2 separate regions of the Homo sapiens genome follow, and region 1 is linked to region 2. The links are contacts of gene promoters, found by promoter capture Hi-C in blood cells and fetal thymus (Javierre and others, 2016). All regions are on one chromosome and are shown on one strand. The core of a region is centred on a gene start or on the middle of the fragment in contact, and the rest is flanking DNA. Distances in the headings are between cores, read along the strand shown.

Region 1 (6,136 bases), core at 414-2,913, 1.0 Mb after region 2:
AGATAGTTTAGACATTGTTATGGCCAGTTTACTTTGTAATGTTCTTGAAAACAACATCTTGGTCTTACAAATCACAAGGGGTGCAAAATGTAAGGGAATGGCTCAGTGCAAAACTAGCAACAGTATGGTAAAATATTCAGAATATACTGATGAGTTCAGCCACTTTATCTCCCTATATAGTAGGCACAGGTCTACTCTTGGGTGAATGGAACAGTCTCTGGGAGCTAGTTCATTGGTATGAAGACATTTCACAGCACTTTAATAATCCAGCATTTATGCCTGCAAAGGTCTATTTTCCTGGGAACTGAGGCTTAGCATTCCTACAGAGCACTAGCTACACCACCCTTGACAACTGTATTATAAACTTTGATTGCTGTAGCCAGCATATTTTTGACTTATATAAATTGGTTACAACATTACATGTAACCTTGCCTATTTTTCCCACTATATCTGAGAGTAGAATTCCAACAATAATGGTTTGGATGGCTCTATTTTTAAAAAAGAATGTTTCTATAATGTTTATCAATATTAATTATTATGCTTAAATACAAATACAAATGGCATGTTGGAACACTTAATTGAATTCAACATCACCATCCTTAACATATTAGAAACTAAGGTGTTTATGTTTGCTTACCTTTTGTGCATTTTCCCCATCTTCAACTGCAAAATCTAGTCTGGGCTGCCTGGGGCTGATCAGGTCTTTTAGTGTTAAACAATTTACCTCCATCTGTAATGCACAATTACACTAGAAAATGATTTTGCAATTAGGTATTTTTTCCTCAAACAAAAATATCTACATATGTGTTACTTGTTTGTCAATATGAAATTCCCCCTTCTCTAAGCACATCCTGGGCATTTCCAGGAGTTGTAGCCACCCTCAACTTTCTAAAACTCACGCGAACAAACTCAAACACCTAAAGTGTGCTTAGTAATACTGAAAATCTGGGAAGAAAAAAATCTACAAAAATAGTAACTCCTTATGAAAAGCTAGATGGCAAAATAAAGTTACCAAGTCGGAAGGGTGTTGGGCAAATCTGTCAGAAAAGTACAGGGTCTCCCAGGTCAGTTAATTTTGGCGCAAAGAACTGAGAGGAATTCGGCTTTGAGGGGTTTTGAATCGGGGGAAGGAAACCCGATCGCTAGACCAAACCCACTCAGCGCTGAGCGCAGCCCCTTCCCAGGCCTCCAAGCAGATCCCCCAAATAAACTTCTCCAATGAAAGCTCCAAGTTGTGGGGAAGGGCAAATCCCCTCTACTGCCGGGCCGGAGTGAGAGCTGCACCCGGCACACCCTCTGCGCACCGGGTTCCCCGGCAGAAACACCTCGAGCCCTCGCCAGCCGGGGGACGTGAGGAGTGGCAGGCTGGCAGCCGGGGCGGGAGTGGGCCCTGTATCCCAATTCCCGCCTCCCCACTGGCGCTGGGGCCGCACGCTTACCCCTGCTTTCCTAAGGAGGCTTCCTGCCTCTGCAGGGACCTCCACGGACCCAAGCCGATGAGGGAAGGTGGTGCGGCGATCAGCAGCCGGGCGGCGGCATCGGGAAGGGAGAGCGAGGCGCGCAGATCCCCGCGCCGAGTGCCCTGGGCTGGCGGGGACCCCGCGGCGTCCGGGCAGCGCCAGCGCTCAGACCGGCCGAGCGCAACTCCAGCCTGGATCGTAGTCCCCGCTAAAACACCTCCTCTGGCGCCTTGAGACCGAATTTGAGAATCCACCAATCAGCGGCGGCCGGCGGGGCGGCCCCGGCCAATCGTGCGGCGGCACGGCCCGGGCTCACCGCCCCTCGGAGTCTTGGCGCTCCGAGCCGCGCGTTTTGCCCTCACCCGCCCAATTGTTGCCGCCTCGGCCCCCTCCCCCTTCCGGGTACCTGGAAACCTCGGGCCCGGGAGCCAATTCCTGCTGGGGACGCGGGCCCCGGCGGCCGCGGGAAGCCAAGGTGGGGGCGGCGCGGGGCGGCGCGGGGCGGCGGGAGAAGGAAGAGGAGGAGGAGGGCTCTTTTGTTATGCATAGAAGACCCGCGCACGTCCCCGCGGCTTGCCGCGCCCGGGGACCCCGGGCACAGCCAGAGGACAGGAAAGCAGATGGGGTTTGGAAGAACGATCTACACCCTCTGGATGCTGCTGCCGCCATCCCCGCCCGCCCTCAGCAACCTGTGCGGAAGCGGAGTTGTCCAGACTTGCCGGGGCAAACTTCTTAACATCGCACGCTGGTGTGACACATGAACCATGGTTACCGCTCTGCTGCGAGCAGATGGCACGCCAGTTAGCCCTGGAGACAAGACTGGAAGCCAAACCAGAAGTTTTTCTAACTTTTTTTTGTTTGTTTGTTTTGTGTGTGTGGCAAATCCGGAAATGTTTTTTGGTGTTCCCTTTTCGGCAAATTGCAAATAATTAGGAGGGAAAAAGCTTTATATAAAAAAGTAGTTCTTTGCAATAGGGACTAGCATTCTGGGAGACAGTCTAGAAAATTTCCTCAACACCACTGATCTGTATTAAATGTTTCACTTCTTTCATCCTACAGTTTCTTGTTTAAAATATGAATGTTGGTAGAGATGGACTTTTTACAAAACAGACTTTATTGTTTAGAAGTTTTCAATTTACAGAAAAATTGAGATAGTACCAAGAATTCCCATATATTCAGCACCCAATTTCACCCACTATTAACATTTTGTGTTAGTATAGAATATTTTTTGAAATTAATGATCTAATATTGGTACATTCTTCTGAGCTCAAGTCATTACTTTATTCAGATTTACTTAATTTTTTCCTAATGGCCCTTTTTTCTGTTCAGGATACCACATTACCTTTAGTTCCTATGTCTCTAGGCTCCTCTTGGCTATGACAGTTTCTCATACTTTCCTCATTTTTGATACCTGGACATTTTTGAGTAGTATTGGTCAAGTATTTTGTAAGATATCCCTCAACTGAAATGTGAGACAGCCTTCTTAAAGCATCAGACATTCTTAAATGTACAGACATGTCCCTACCCCCCATCTACTTTACAGCAAAGGTATCATTTTCCTTTCTATACCAAGACTCCATTCTTCACCACTTACCCTCCAAATATTTTTATTTTATTTTATTTTTGGAGACGGAGTCTTGCACTGTCACCCAGGCTAGAGTGTAGTGGCCCAATCTCGGCTCACTGAAACCTCCACCTCCTGGGTTCAAGCGATTCTCTGCCCCAGCCTCCCGAGTAGCTGGGACTACAGCCGTGCGCCACCACGCCCAGCTAATTTTTGTATTTTTAGTAGAGATGGGGTTTTGCTGTGTTGGCCAGGTTGGTCTCGAACTCCTAACCTCAGGTGATCTGCCTGCCTGCCTTGGCCTCCCAAAGTGCTGGGATTACAGGTGTGAGACACCGTGCCCGGCCTCAAATACATATATTTTAAATGAACTCTCAGCAGAATTCAGAATGCTCAATCAAGTCCTTCACTTCGTACTCTAGATTGCTGGTAAATACGGCCTAAAAAAAAAAAAATCACTGCTAGGTCATACATTGAAAAGAGAAAAGTATGCAAAACATTAAACAAAAGAAAATAGTAATAAAAATCTGACATTTTTTATAGGAATAACATTTTGAACTGAAATCTCTTTTGTAGGTAGAAACCTAATGAGAAGTTTAAACAATAAAAAATTGCAACTTATTAAATTTTGCACATATGTGGAAGCAGAAGTTTAGATAAGGAAATACTTTTCCCAACAGTATTCATTTTCTATGGCTGTTGTAACAAATTACAACTGGCTTATAAGGACAGAGATTTAGTCTCTCACAGTTCTGGAAAGTTAAGGTATTCCCAGGGCCACACTCCCTCTGGGGCTCTTGTCCTTTTCCTCTTCCAGTTTCTGGTGGCTGTTAACAGTCCTTGACACGTGGCAGCCTCACTCCAATTTCTACCTCCATAGTTACGTTGCTTTCTCTTTTGTCTGTTAAGTCTCTCCTGTGTGTCTCCTATGAGGACACCTGTCAATGAATTTAGGTCCCACCTGGATAGTCCAGGATGATCTCATCTTGAGATCTTCAATTTAATTGCATCTGGGAAGATCCTCTTTCCAGAGTAACATTCCTTCATGGGTTCTGGGGATTAGGACATGGATACACCTTTTTGGGGCCCACCATTCAGCCTTCTAGACCAACATTCAAATTATTAAAGTCCATTCATTTCTCTGATATTTCAAAATACTAATGATCGTTTCTTTGAGGTTAGACAGTTTCACGGTACAGGGCTTTTCCTAACATTTTTAGAGTAAAAGTACTTTTTCTATTTTGATACAAATGTAATTTCTATTCAAGTTACAAAAAAAACTCAGTTGGATACATCACTTCAGGCACTTATAATTTCATTGATTATAAGAGTTATCTTAGATTTGGAGGAAAACTGAAAAATAAATGTTTGATGGACAAATTCAGAGACATTATTCCAACACACTTATTTATATTGATGTTTTTAAGTCCCAGAATGCATACATAACCTGTTAATCTCTCGGTAATTCAGTTGACACTGATGTTGGCTGGGAACTAGGCTGGAGTATCAAGAAGAGTCTCGACATGTGACCTCTCCATATGGCCTGGTCTAGATATCCTGGTAGCTCAAGGTAGTTGGACTTCTTCCAGGGTGGCTCCTGGGATCCAAAATGAATGTGTCATGTAGCAAAGTGGAAATAGTATCACCTTTTGTGACGTAGCCTAAGAACTGATAGCATCAATTCCACTACAGTTTTTGGGAGGAAACAGTCAAAAATCCATCCACATTCAAGGGGAGAAGACATATACCTCACTCTCAATGGGAGAAGTGTCAAAGAATTTGGGGCCATATTTCTCTCTCTCTCTCTCTCTCTATATATATATATATATGTGTGTGTGTGTGTGTGTGTGTGTGTGTGTGTATATATATATATATATATATATATATAAAAATAAGTTCTGGGATACATGTGCAGAACATGCAGGTTTGTTACATAGGTATACACGTGCCATGGCATGGTGGTTTGCTGCACCCATCAACCGGTCATCTACATTAGCTATTTCTCCTAAAGCTACCCCTCCCCTTGCTACCCCTACCCCTCCCCTTGCCCCCTACCCCATGACAGGCCCTGGCATGTGATGTTCCCCTCCCTGTGTCCATGTGTTTTCATTGTTCAACTCCCATTCGTTAGTGAGAACATGTGGTGTTTGGTTTTCTGTTCTTGTATTAGTTTGCTGAGAATGATGATTGCCAGCTTCATCCATGTCCTGGCAAAGGACATGAACTCATCCTTTTTTATGGCTCCATAGTATTCCAAGGTGTATAAGTGCCACATTTTCTTTATCCAGTCTATCACTGATGGGTATTTGGGTTGGTTCCAAGTCTCTGCTATTGTGAACAGTGCTGCAATAAACCTCTTCATGTGTCTCCATAGTAGAATGATTTATAATCCTTTGGGTATATACCCCAGTAATGGGATTGCTGGGTCAAATGGTATTTCTGGTTCTAGATCCTTGAGGAATTGCCACACTGTCTTCTACAATGGTTGAACTAATTTACACTCCCACCAACAGTGTAAAAGCATTCCTATTTCTCCACATCCTCACCAGCATCTGTTGTTTCCTGACTTTTTAATGATCACCATTCTAACTGGCATGAGATGGTATCTCATTATGGTTTTTATTTGCATTTATCTAATGACCAGTGATGAGGAGCATTTTTTCATATGTCTGTTGGCTGCATAAATGTCTTCTTTTGAGAAGTGTCTGTTCATATCCTTTGCCCACTTTTTGATGGGGTTGTTTGTTTTTCTCTTCAACATATTTTAAAACTACCGCACCAGGTTTTGTGCCAATTGGAGTATCCTATGACTCTACCTCAATAATTTCTGCCTGAGACATCATTGACTTTGAAACAGTATAGTGTTACCTACATGGCAGCTCTCCCTACATTTCTGTATTGTGCTAATCTTGTAGTTCTCAACCTTGTCTATTCTTTATAGTCATCTGGGGGAGATTTAAAAAAATACCAGCAGCTGAACCCCACACCTAGAGATTTCTAATTTACTTGATCTGGAATTGGCCCTTGGGTATCAAGTATTTTTTAAGTGCTTAGTGTGTTGTTCCTTAGCATCTTGCTAGTTGTACTCTTCTTTCATTGATTCTTTTGGATG
Region 2 (6,248 bases), core at 1-2,500:
GCTGCCCCTTTCAGGCAGAGTTGGAGGTGCTGCGGAGAAGCCGGTGCCCGTGCGGCTGCGAGTGCGGCTGTGGGTGTGGGTGCGGTATTTGGTGCGGATGCGGGTGCGGGTGAGGGTGTGGGTGCGAGTGAGGATGAGAGTGTGGATGTGGATGTGGATGCGGATACGGGTGGAGCTGCTGGGGCTGAGGCTTGGGTTGGGGCTGAGGCTGGGGTTGTGATTGGGGCTGGGGTTGCGGCTGAGGCTGAGGCTGGGGTTGGGGCTGGAGCTGCGGCTGCGGCTGCGGCTGCGAGGGGGGCTGCTGCTGGACCAGGTGCTGCTGCTTCTGCCGCGTGGATTTGACCGCCAGGATGGCCTGACGATTCTTGTACTGCACCATCTGCAGCGTGATCTCGGCGTTCCAGCCCTGGTCTTGCGGGCACCGAAAGTCGATCTCCTTGCCCTCTGCCATCACCACAGTGAAGTACATGTACTTGCCCTTGCGCTCCACACAGTCCACGGTCTTCATGTTGGAGAAGTGCAGTTCCTTGAGCTTGACCGGCGGCTCGAGGCTGGCGACAGCGGGGCCACTGGGTTGGGACGGCTCGGCCGGCCCCTGCCCGGGCTGTTGTTGCTGCTGCTGCTGCTGCTGTTGCTGCTGCTGCTGCTGGTGTTGCAGCTGCTTGGGCGGGATAAGCAGCAGCCCTTCCTCGGTGAGGATGCAACACTTTTTCTTCCAGAGCTGCAACAACCCGTCGCTGCGCTTCTCCAGCACGCCCTCCTTCAGCGCTTTGCAGCCGCTACTCTCCAGCATCCTCCCAGCATAAGAGGGGCCGCCGCTTGGCTCGGCCTCTCCGTTTCCAGCCGCGCGGGCCGGGGGCAGCAGCAGCAGCCTCGCGCCGTCCTCGCCCCAGCGGCTCCCACGGCCGCCTGCCCGGAGCGCGCAGAGGAGGCTAACACGCAGGAGGCAGAGCGGCGGCGGCGGCTCTGGGTCCCGGCAGAGGGACAGCCGCGTCCTGATGCGCCACAAGGTCCCGGAGCTCCGAGCTGCCGGGCCTCTGCCGTCCTCTTGCGAGCGCTCACTGAAGGGCACTGGCCGGGCCCCCTCGCGGCGCTTTTGAATGGGCCATCTTCCCCACCCCCGAGTGACACCCAGCGGAAAAGGCGGCTCCTGGCGCCCGCACCGCGGGGGAAAGCCCAGCTCCAAGAGGCGCTCGGCAGCCGGCGCACGCCTCATTAACTTGGGGCCTTTCCAAAGCCCGCTGCGTCCACGCCCTCCAGCGTCTCTTGCTCCGCCTCTCGCCGCCCACTTGCTTCCGCGCTCGTTCCCCTGGAAGGCGACCCGGACCCGAGCCCCGGAAACTCCTCTCCTCTACCCAGGGCGATCGCCCAAGGAGCCCTGGCTGCCTGACTACTGCCGACGCTCACAGGGCGCTGCGAGGCCATCCCCCGCGTCCCGCTTCTCCCCGGCCCGCGGGACTCTCTGCTAACAGCCTCAGAAAGTGAGGACGGGGGCGCGGAGGCGGGGGCAGCCTCCAGGCAGTGCTGCCTCTCGGTTCTTGGGAATTAGCCCGGGGGATTCGCGCTGGGCTCCGAGAGCCCGCAGAACCAGCGTCGTGTCCTGGGCGAGCTGGGAGGCCGGGGCCGAGTCCCGCGAGTCCCGCGAGTGTGCCTCCCCCGGACGCCTAGGTAAACAACTGAGCGCACAGAGGCCGAGAGGACATCGTGTCTTCCCACGCATATTCGCTCACGGTCACTAAGTAGCTCTTCTTGGAAAGAGGGCGATTGTTAAAGCAATAGTGCGACTGTCGGGCTTGCCACGGGTGGAGAGAGGCGGACCCACGTCAGGTCGCATCTCGCCTGCTTTTCTCGACCCCGACCGCAGGCGCTAACCCGTCTTCGGCTTTCTTCTTGACCCGTACGGTTTGCAACGTCTCTTAAAACAGTAACTCAACTCTCTACAAACCGGGGTAATATCCGGTGCTGAGATCCCACACTGCAAGGCGCAGTTCCAAACGTCTGGTCGGCCTCGCAGGTCCCTCTTTCCAAGGCCTAGCCAGATCTTGGTTTTGGAATCTCATTTATCTGTGACCTGGGGAATGCAATACCCCCAGCTCCCTCCTACTCCTACATTTAAACAATGCCTATAGAAGCCGCTTCCTGGGAAGTAAGGCATAACCGAGACCTAGCCTCCCGGTAGGGAAGTTCATCCGTTTAGTAAACAGCCCCAACTACGTGCGGACCCTCACGGGGATACGAAGAATTCAACCAGGGCTGGACAAGTCAGAGTGGGCCAAGGTAAGAGTTACGGCTGCTACTGTGCCCACGTTGGAACAGATAGATTAGTTCATCTGCTAGTTGTGTGGCAAGAGCAAAGAATTCAAGAGGGGAAGAGAAAGTGAGAGGAGCTTAGAGAGCTAAGCAAGAATCGAATCCTTTGTGTGTCATGGTAAGAAATTCGAACTTAATACCAAGGTAGTCAGAACAAAGGACAACTTTTATACACGAGGGCGTCCTGAATATTCATCTAAGAAACAATGTCTGATCAAACGGGACAATCCAGCCAGCAATCCTGAGTCCCACCGGATTATGCTTGGCCAGCTTTCTAGCCTTCACATTGTTAATTTATTAGCAATCTTTTCAGGAGAAAGGCAATTATTAAAATTATGTGGACTTCTAGTAAAATTATCTCGAAGATTTACAATTATGTATACCAATAACAAAAAAACTACATGTTTTCTGCTCCCCTGCCTTTGTAGGACAAGTGAGCATTCCAGAGAATTTCTACATGACCAGCTGTTCATTCTTTTAAGAGGATGACATTCTTCAGCTCATCTGGAAAGGATACTTCCTTTAAGTCTGTTATTCACAGTCTCCAAGGGCAGGTGTAGTTGGGAAAGACATTTCATATGGAAAAACAAACTTGATAGGGTAAAAAAAAAAAAAATGAGATGTAATCTGGAGGCCCAAGTCATTTTCTTAGGAGAAACTCAAATGTGTTTGGTGTTATCTAACCTTCTGCAGTTTATCAGTCTGAAACAAATGCATTCTATTCTCATTTGAAAATGTCTGAACAGCCACCAATTTTCAAAATCACCCATTTAACTAGAGACTTTAAAGCCCAGAATTTGCAGTTACGTATTTCAGAATGATTTAGTAATTTTGTGAGCAGCTCAGAGGTTAAGTCTACAATGTCTGACTACGGTGCATTATTGAAAATATCAGTAGTGTAAGGATCCCGTAGATTGGTGATAACTTTGCTCTTGTTATTTCAACAGTTACCACCAACAGTTGGTGACTTAACAAATTAAGAGCATAGTTGCCATATGCTCATATTTGGCAAATATGTCAAAATGGCCATATTTGCCAATTTTTAAGACAATAAATTCACAGAAAATGCATTACAGAAAATAACTTAAAAAAAAAAAAAACAACTTTTGGGCCAGGCATGGTGGTTCACACCTGTAATACCAACACTCTAGGAGGCTGAGGTGAGAGGATCCCTTGAGCCCAGGAGTTTGAAACCAACCTGGGCTACATGGCAAGGCCTCCCTCTACAAATGTAAAAAAAAAATTAGCCAGGTGTGGTGGCATGCGCCATGTAGCCCCAGCTACTTGGGAGGCTGAGGTGGAGGACTGTTTGAGCCCAGAAGTTCAAGGTTGCAGGAGCTAGGATCGCACCACTATACAAGCCTGGGTGGCAGCAAGACCCTGTTTAAAAAAAAAAAAAAATTCAGCTGTATATGCAATGAAAACCTACAAGTCACTGAAAAGTTACTGAAGTTTAGAAAACTAGCCAACAAAATCATTGCTTTGGTAAACAAATTTGAAATGGCTAATTGAAAGTACATTTTACAGCTGGCAATATAAAGTTATCTATCAGCAGCACTGGACAGTTCATTTTCTTCTCTTGGATAAAGTTTATCACTTGGCTTCAAGGACATCACTCAGTTTTCCTTTACATCTCCAGTGTCTCCTCTATGAGGTGCTTTCTCTTCTCTCCAAACTTTTAATGTTGGAATGCCCCAAGTCTTTGTCTTTGGCTCTCTTCTTTATCTACACTCATTCCCTTGTTGATATCCAGTCTCATCACTTTTAATAACATCTATATGCCAGAGTCCCAAATTTATACCCCCAACTTATATCCAACTGCTTACTGCCGAAGAATAAAACACTGAAGTTAAAAAATAATAAACATACCAGGCAAGGGAACACTTACTAGTAAAGCCATTTACTGAGTAGTTCACTAAAGGTTTAAGTCTGAGGGGATTTTAGGTCATAGGAAAAAAAAAAAAAAACTGAAAAAGAACACTCGGATGGTCAGAGGAGTCTGTAATTCATACACAATAGGTTTTAACAAATTCCTACATGGAACTGCTCCAGTTTATAGGTTAGAATTAACTATAGTGAAAAACAGCCTTCAGTTTTTATCAATTCCAGGCCAGTGAGTGCTACTATAAGTTGAAAATTCTCCATTTACACTTCTCTACAGTACGGCTTGTGTAGTCTAAGAAATCAAACATGTGAATGAGCTCCCAAACTATTTTCCTCACTCTAACCTACTCTACCTGCAGCCCCCTTTCTCAGTTGACAGCAATCCTCTGTACAGATGCTCAAACTAAAAACCGTAGATCAGTACTGCCCTTACACCAGGCCAGGAAAGGCCCTTATCCAAGGCCCTGAGCTTTAGGATTGAGTGCTTTAGAGTCAAGATGACATGTCAATCTAGAGAGCATACTCATTCTGCACTACACTCTAGGTACTCAAGACCCCAAATACCCTGCCCAGAATAGCCCCAGCTGTTCCAGGAAATGCATTACATCATCATTGCATGCACTGATGTGTTAGGGGGATAGGGCAGTTCGAATATACTGGTTATGGCATCCAAGTAAATGTGCAGGAGGCCCCTTGCCATACAGTTCAGAGCCGGGGTGGGAAGAAAAGGAAGGTGGCTCATGGGCTGAGGGTCAGCTCTGCCCGCAAGTTATATTCTGGCATAAATACAAACCTGGCTTCCCAGTTCTAATGAAAGTTTGTCAAGACAGGCACATTGGGCATATTTTCATTAAACAGTACTTTTAAATATTTAAACATACGGTATCTCCATTGTACTCTTGCCCCAGGCCTTCAAGTGTGTAGAATCATGCCTGCCTTGTAGTAATTTTTTTCTCTCCCAATATTTAATCTACACATTTAGTCAGGAAATCCTACTGGTTAGGCCTTCAACTACATCTGGATTCTGTCCACTTCCTTCATTACCACCCTGATCCAAATCACCATCATATCCCCCCACTGGATTACTATGATGGCCTCCTAACTTGTCTCCCTGATTCTATCCTTGTTATCTATTTTCAGCATAGCACCCAAAGTTATCTCCATCACTTTCTTCAAGTCTTGGCTCAACAGGCCTATCCTGATCACTCTCAAATGGTAGCCACTCAATTCCCCTTAATTTTTCCCATAGCATATATTATCTTCTAACATGCTACTCAATAATTTATTGTACCTATTGCTTATTTCTGTTCCCCTTCCCACTAGAATAGTATGCAAGCTATTCAAGAGGGCAAGGACCATTGTTTCTGATGTGTCCCAATCACCTAGAAAAAGTCTTGATACCAAGTAGATGCTCAACATAGGTAGAAATCTTGAATTGAATTAGAAGTCCATACCCATCATAAAAAGAATATCAATTTTTTCAAATGCTTTTGACAGATTTTTCATGATGCATCCTACTTTTTAAAACTTGAGATGTAAGGACTTGAAATTTGCCCTACAAACATATCTCTGGTATACTTTTTAAATGGATAACTACATGCTAGGCCTCTCTGAATCTTAAATGCTTTTATAGTCAGACATCTAAAATAAATCCCACAAACCTTTTCCCAAGCAACATGCAATTTAATATCATGAGAGGTGTTTATATAAACTAGTATCCTACTGTTTTCTAGTAAGAGTATTTAGAAGCATGAGAAACACAGTAATGGAACTGAGTTGGTAAGTTTCTTACTTGGCAGTTACATAGTCAAACACTTGACTAAAAGTCCATTAATCAATACTGGCTTAAAGACATGTAACAGAACTTGGAAAGTTATTAAGTGTTTAATTCATAATGATTACAAAATTCTGATCTGTAAACCAATTTGCAATATACAGTAGAAACTCATGACAATGATCATTATTAAAGATTTGGATAGACCAAAGGTCAAACATCTTTCAAGAAAAAGTTAAAGCCCAGTAAATTATGAACATGTCACGTTACCCTCATCAGG

What was found. The method cuts DNA at HindIII sites, captures the fragments that hold promoters and counts their contacts. A CHiCAGO score of 5 or more calls a contact.
Region 1: a contact is called between the fragment with the promoter of E2F7 here and the fragment with the promoter of PHLDA1 in region 2, in 1 of 17 cell types (fetal thymus). The highest score is 5.1, in fetal thymus.

The regions. Positions count from the first base shown.
Region 1 is chr12:77,063,906-77,070,041 of GRCh38, forward strand. It overlaps E2F7 (E2F transcription factor 7), which reads right to left and starts at 1,664. Exons shown (of 13, transcript NM_203394.3): 1 at 1,440-1,664; 2 at 638-730. The coding sequence starts at 730. RefSeq lists silencers at 1,504-1,553, 1,574-2,003 and enhancers at 1,612-2,318, 2,054-2,283. The HindIII fragment of the contact is 4,360 bases long and covers 1-2,402 here.
Region 2 is chr12:76,030,526-76,036,773 of GRCh38, forward strand. It overlaps PHLDA1 (pleckstrin homology like domain family A member 1), which reads right to left and starts at 1,251. Exons shown (of 2, transcript NM_007350.3): 1 at 1-1,251. The coding sequence starts at 1,216. The coding sequence ends at 11. PHLDA1-AS1 (PHLDA1 antisense RNA 1) reads left to right here. Exons shown (of 2, transcript NR_186034.1): 1 at 1-69; 2 at 386-853. PHLDA1-DT (PHLDA1 divergent transcript) reads left to right here and starts at 1,288. Exons shown (of 2, transcript NR_185978.1): 1 at 1,288-2,277; 2 at 2,739-3,864. NAP1L1 (nucleosome assembly protein 1 like 1) reads right to left here. Exons shown (of 15, transcript NM_004537.7): 15 at 6,060-6,248. RefSeq lists a silencer at 787-936 and an enhancer at 1,157-1,406. The HindIII fragment of the contact is 8,299 bases long and covers 1-6,248 here.